Regions from separate parts of the Homo sapiens genome. Here region 2 is linked to region 1. Evidence: promoter capture Hi-C in human tissues and cell types (Jung and others, 2019). All regions are on one chromosome and are shown on one strand. The core of a region is centred on a gene start or on the middle of the fragment in contact, and the rest is flanking DNA. Distances in the headings are between cores, read along the strand shown.

The links. Contacts are between HindIII fragments. The study calls those that stand out against the background at their distance.
Region 2: a contact is called between a fragment that was not itself captured here and the fragment with the promoter of BDH2 in region 1, in 1 of the 25 tissues and cell types used here (aorta).

Annotation. Positions count from the first base shown.
Region 1 is chr4:103,097,970-103,101,226 of GRCh38, forward strand. BDH2 (3-hydroxybutyrate dehydrogenase 2) reads right to left here and starts at 1,865. Exons shown (of 10, transcript NM_020139.4): 1 at 1,814-1,865. The HindIII fragment of the contact is 9,040 bases long and covers 1-3,257 here.
Region 2 is chr4:101,995,093-101,998,314 of GRCh38, forward strand. All of the region lies in intron 7 of BANK1 (B cell scaffold protein with ankyrin repeats 1), which reads left to right. Among named protein-coding and RNA genes, the nearest start is that of BANK1, 210 kb to the left of the region's middle. The HindIII fragment of the contact is 6,310 bases long and covers 1-3,222 here.

The sequences.
Region 1 (3,257 bases), core at 615-3,114:
CAATATGCTCTTCCATTTCAAACCTCCACACTTGGTCCAAGGTCCACATGGTGAAGGGCAAGTTACTCCTATAGGCAACAGCCACTGAAGGATTTATGGAAAGGGTGTGAAATGATCAGATTCGTATTTTGGAAGGACTGCTGTGGAGAACATACCTGGGCAGGAGCATGGGGTGCCATTAGGAGGCTGCTAGGGTTATCTAGTGGGGGCGCTGGTGAAATAGCAGGGCTGGAGAAAATAGCAGGGATGGAGAGATAGGTGGATTGGAGAAGTGTTTCAGAGATGAGATAGGTAGGACCTGATCACCAACGTGGCTAATTTCAAAGAAATGTTATTTGCCCAGTGTTTTGCAGCTATGAATTCAAACCTAGGCCTTCTTGTTGCAGGTCCAAGGGAAGATCTCATGGCATTGTCTCATGGTACTCAAAGCCCTGCGGGCCTCTCTAAATCCCCACTGTGGCACCAGGAGCCTGTGCCTCGCAGACCGCTGACCCCAGGAAGTAATGGACAATGAGGCGCAGCTGCTGCTGCCTCTCTGGGTTTGTGCTGAGGCCACCTTCTCGGGGCCGTTACAAGCCAGTGCCTGAGCATGCATGCTTACTAAGGCAGACTCATTTCTGGGAGACATAGACCTCCTCCCCAACGGATGACTGGCTAGAGAAGCTCCTTATTACCTTGCTGAAGTTCTCTTAGACTGCACAGCTGTCTGGGATGCTTCCACTCAACCTGGTTTCCTTCTTTTCCTCCCTCGCGGGTGGACTTGCATCGAGGTCTGATGGCTCTCACAGCCTTACCTAGTTCTCTCCTCATTCTCTCTCACAACAGCATTTCCCCTAATAAAATCCATGCATATTTAATTCTATCTTGGAGTCTGCTTCTTGGAGGAGCAGACTAACACAATTATGTAAGAACTGGCTCCAGGGATCAGCTTATAATCACTGACTTCCTCTGAGTTTGTCCACATTTTTTAGGCGATGGGGAAGCTTGGCTTTAACAGTGCCTGACCTACTTTGATGCAATGAATTTTTGCTTTTTTACTTCTTACACAAAAGATAAACATGGAATGTTTATCATTTCAACATGGAATGACAGTTTCTAAAGTATAACTTTAGAAAGATATACTTTATCCTCCTTGAATCCTAAGCATGGTGCACAAAAGCTATTTTACAACACTGTCATTAGTGATATTGGGTGTATGGCCCTGTAAAGCCTCCAGTCAAAGGTTTTGCTAGGAATCTTTGCCAACCGAAGAAGCACTTCCAGAACAAATGCCGAAGCACAGAGCAGCCTTTCTATGCACTCTGAAAACCTCCTCTTAGCTGGCCTTCCTGTCTTTCTGGGACCAGATTTTGGGGTCAAAGCCTTAACATTTGATAAACTGTAATCTCAAACTAAAACAGATTTCTTTGAGAAAATGAGAGCAAACACGGCCTGAAATGGTAAAACAAGGCACCTCTCAATATATCCAATGTGAAAACCATACATGTTGGCTTCCTTAGTCCAAAAGTTAGAATCAAAATGTTGATTTTTGATTAGCAGAGACACAAACAGCATATTCAGGAAGCCATTGTTTTCAAGAGCCAGGAAGAAAACTCTTCACTTAGGATACCGTAAGAATCCTTTTTTCTTGGGCTACTTTATAAAACATACATACCACAGAGTTTCAGGCTCTTTAAAAACCCATCTTTACACTGATCTAACTGCTCAGATTAATTTTGAAACAGGCAACGTGCAGAAAAAAACAACATCTAAAAATTAAACCTCCCCTCTTTCCGTTCTAAAGTTTCATTTCAAAAGTATTAGGAAATCTTACTTTAAGCAGCGAGCTGATGGCGTTCTCCAGAACTCGGTTTGAGCAACAAACTTGAGACAACCTTTGTCTGGAAGCAAGTCAAGCGCTTAATAATGCATGCTGGGATTTGTAGTTTCCCTGCTTTCAGAGTTTAGTGGCTCCATCCATACACTTTATAAATGTATGTGCTGCCATCTAGTGGAATTCAGGTAGAACTATGAATTCCAAGTGGAAGGTGAAAAGTGGAAAAGCACCTTAGAGCTTACTTAGGATGCGGAAATCATTTCCTTCACTTCAGTCTCTCCACTTCTCTGTTTTGTTTATGCCTACTATATGCGGTGCCAGGGTAGACGAGATTGGCTGAGCTGGAAACTGCGTGTGGAAGATAGCAGAGCAACAAAATAGAGGGAACCCAGGTCACTGAAAATTCTGGAGCCTTCCTGTCACTTGGCCTGGATTGTTTTAAGGGAGAGAAATAAAAAAAAAAATCCTTTTTGTTTGAGATACAGTTGTGATTTTTATTTTTTCATGCTCAGAATATTCTAACACTAATGCACATTTAGTGGCAGAATGCCAGGAGCCTTTTACTACACTGGGAATGGGGTTGGGGAGAACGTGAAACTTGGATGACAGGGTGGAGGCTTAAAAGGGAACATGTTAACAGCGAAAAACCCCAGTTTGGCTGAAGAGAACAGAGATATAAGGTCAAAAAGAAAGGACTAGATCTCATGAGCCCTCTAGGTTAGGATAGCAACATGTGCTTTATCTGTAGTGCCAGTGAGCAGAGTGATTGTGTAGGCTACTTGTACATGTACTGTATAAATTGGTTTCCTCAGCACCCATCCAACTCACTTTCCCCTTTTTTCACTTGTCAAAGCTGGAAAACAAAAGTCTCTACTTCATAGCCTTGTTTGCTGCTAGGGGTGGCCAAGCAGCATAGATGTTGCCAATGAAATGCAGGTGGGAATTTCTGAGGAGGGCCTCCTTCTTAAATAGAAAAGTAAGCCCTTCTGAAAGGCTTTTAGCTTTTGCTCCTCCCTTTCTTTTTGCCTGGAATGAAGATAGGATGCCGTGGGACAGAGCAGCCATTTAGTGAGTTCATCTGAGGCCAGAGGCACACATTAACGACAGGGACCAGCAAGAGAAGGAGCCTGCGGCCCTGATGACAGCCTCAAGGCAACAACTCCTCTGGACTTCTTATGTGAGGACAATAAACTTTAGTGTTTTTCACGTTTTTTGTTACATGGAGCTAAGTGATTTCTAACAGTCACAGGGGATAAGAACAAAGACTGTGGCGTCAGTAAGACTAGAGCAAGTCCCATATCTCTCTCTCACTAGCTAAGTGAGTAAATCACTTAAATCTCTGAACCTCTTATGTTTCTCATCTGTAAAATGAAGGTAAAATAGCACCTACCTCAGGGATGTGGTGAGGAGGAACGACTAAGCCTGTGAATCCATCAGCACA
Region 2 (3,222 bases), core at 103-2,602, 1.1 Mb before region 1:
CCCCTAACCCCCCACCACCTGACAGGCCCTGGTGTGTGATGTTCCCCTCCCTGTGTCCATGCGTTCTGATTCAGCTCCCTCTTATGAGTGAGAACATGTGGTATTTGGTTTTCTGTTCCTGTGTTAGTTTGCTGAGAATGATGGTTTCCAACTTCACCTATGTCCCTGCAAAGGACATGAACTCATTCTTCTTTATGGCTGCATAGTACTCCATGTTGTATATGTGTCACATTTGCTTTATCCAGTCTATCATTAATGGGCATTTTGGTTGGTTACAAATCTTTGCTATTATAAATAGTGCTGCAATAAACATGTATGTGCATGTGTCTTTATAGTAGAATTATTTATAATACTTTGGGTATATACCCAGTAATGGGATTGCTGGGTCAAATGGTATTTCCAGTTCTAGATCCCTGAGGAATCGCCACACTGACTTCCACAATGGTTGAACTAGTTTACAGTCCCACCAACAGTGTAAAAGTGTTCCTATTTCTCCACATCCTCTCCAGCATCGTTGTTTCCTGACTTTTTAATGATCTCCATTCTAACTAGCATGAGATGGTATCTCATTGTGATTTTGGTTTGCATTTCTCTAATGACCAGTGATGATGAGCTTTTTTTCATATGTTTTTTGGCCACATAAATGTCTTCCTTTGTGAAGTGTCTGTTCATATCCTTCACCCACTTTTTGATGGGGTTGTTTGTTTCATTCTTTTAAATTTGTTTAAGTTCCTTGTAGATTCTGGATATTAGCCCTTTGTCAGATGGATAGATTGCAAAAATTTTCTCCCATTCTGTAGGTTTCCTTTTCACTCTGATGATAGTTTTTTTGCTGTGCAGAAGTTTAGTTTAGTTTAATTAGATCCCATTTGTCACTTTTGGCTTTTGTTGCCATTGCTTTTGGTGTTTTAGTCACGAAGTCTTTGCCCATACCTATGTCCTGCAGGGTATTGCCTAGGTTTTCTTCTGGGGTTACATTTAAGTCTTTAATCCATCTTGTATAATTTTTGTATAAGGTGTAAGGAAGGGGTCCAGTTTCAGTTTTCTGCATATGGCTAGCCAGTTTTCCCAACACCATTTATTAAATAGGGAATCCTTTCCCCATTGCTTATTTTTTCGAGGTTTGTCAAAGATCAGATGGTTGTAGATGTGTAGTGTTATTTCTGAGGCCTCTGTTCTGTTCCATTGGTCCATATATCTGTTTGGTACAAGTACCATGCTGTTTTGGTTCCTGTAGCCTTGTAGTATAGTTTGAATTCAGGTAGCATGATGCCTCCAGCTTTGTTCTTTTTGCTTAGGATTGTCTTAGCTATATGGGCTCTTTTTTGATTTCACATGAAATTTAAAGTAGTGTTTTTCTAATTCTGTGAAGAAAGTCAATGGTAGCTTGATGGGGATAGCATCGGATCTATAAATTACTTTGGGCAGTATGACCATTTTCATTATATTGATTCTTCCTTTCTATGAGCATGGAATGTTTTTCCATTTGTTTGTGTGCTCCCTTATTTCCTTGAGCAGTGTTTTGTAGTTCTCCTTGAAGAGAGGTCCTTCACATCCCTTGTAAGTTGTATTCCTAGGTATTTTATTCTCTTTGTAGCAATCGTGAATGGGAGTTCACTCATGATTTTGCTCTCTGTTTGTCTGTTCTTAGTGTATAGGAATGCTTGTGATTTTTGCACATTGATTTTGTATCCTGACACTTTACTAAGTTGCTTATCAGCTTAAGGAGATTTTGGGCTGAGACGATGGGGTTTTCTAAATATACAATCATGTCATCTGCAAACAGAGACAATTTGACTTCCTCTTTTCCTATTTGAATACCCTTTTTTTCTTTCTCTTGCTTGATTGCCCTGGCCAGAACTTCCAATACTATATTGAATAGGAGTGGTGAGAGAGGGCATCCTTGTCTTTTGCCTGTTTTCAAAGGGAATGCTTCCAGCTTTTGCCCATTCAGTATGAAAATGGCTGTGTGTTTGTCATAAATAGCTCTTATTATTTTGAGATACATTCCATCAATACCTAGTTTTTTGAGAGTTTTTACCATGAAAGGGTGTTGAATTTTTTTGAAGGTCCTTTCTGCGTCTATTGAGATAATCAAGTGGTTCTTGTCATTGGTTCTGTTTATGTGATGGATTATGTTTATTGATTTCCATATATTGAACCAGTCTTGCATCCCAGTGACGAAGCCGACTTGTTCGTGGTGGATAAGCTTTTTGATGTACTGCTGGATTCAGTTTGCCAGTATTTTATTGAGAATTATTGCACTGATGTTCATCAGTGATATTGGCCTGAAATTTTCTTTTTTTGTTGTGTCTCTGCCAGGTTTTGGTATCAGGATCATGTTGGCCTCATAAAATGAGTTAGGGAGGACTCCCTCTTTTTCTATTGTGTGGAATAGTTTCGGAAGGAATGGTACCAGCTCCTCTTGTAGAATTTAGCTGTGAATCCATCTGGTACTAGGCTTTTTTTTTATTGTTAGGCTATTAATTACTGCCTCAATTTCAGAACTTGTTATTGATCTATTCAGGGATTCGACTTCTTCCTGGTTTAGTCTTGGGATGGTGTATGTGTCCAGGAATTTATCAATTGCTTCTAGATTTTCTAGTTTATTTGCATAGAGGTGTTTATAGTATTCTCTGATGGTAGTTTGTATTTCTGTGGGATCAGTGGTAATATCCCCTTTGTCATTTTTGATTGTGTCTATTTGATTCTTCTCTCTTTTCTTCTTAATTATTCTGGCTAGTAGTCTATTTTGCTAATTTTTTAAAAAAACCAGCTCCTGGATTCATTGATTTTTGAAAGTTTTTTTGTGCCTCTATCTCCTTCAGTTCTGCTCTGATCTTAGTTATTTCTTGTCTTCTGCTAGCTTTTGAATTTGTTTGCTTTTGTTTCTCTAGTTCTGTTAATTGCGATGTAAGAGTGGCGATTTTAGATCTTTCCCACTTTCTCCTGTGGACATTTGGTGCTAAAAATTCCCCTGTAAACACTGCTTTACTTGTTTCCCAGACATTTTGGTACATTGTTTCTTTGTTCCCATTGGTTTCAAATAATTTATTTATTTATGCCTTAATTTCGTTATTTACCCAGTAGTCATTCAGGAGCACATTGTTCCATTTCCATATAGTTGTGTGGTTTTGAGTGAGTTTCTTAATCCTGAGTTCTAATTTGACTGCACTATTTTCTGAGAGACGGTTTGTTATTATTTCTGTTCTTTTTCATTTG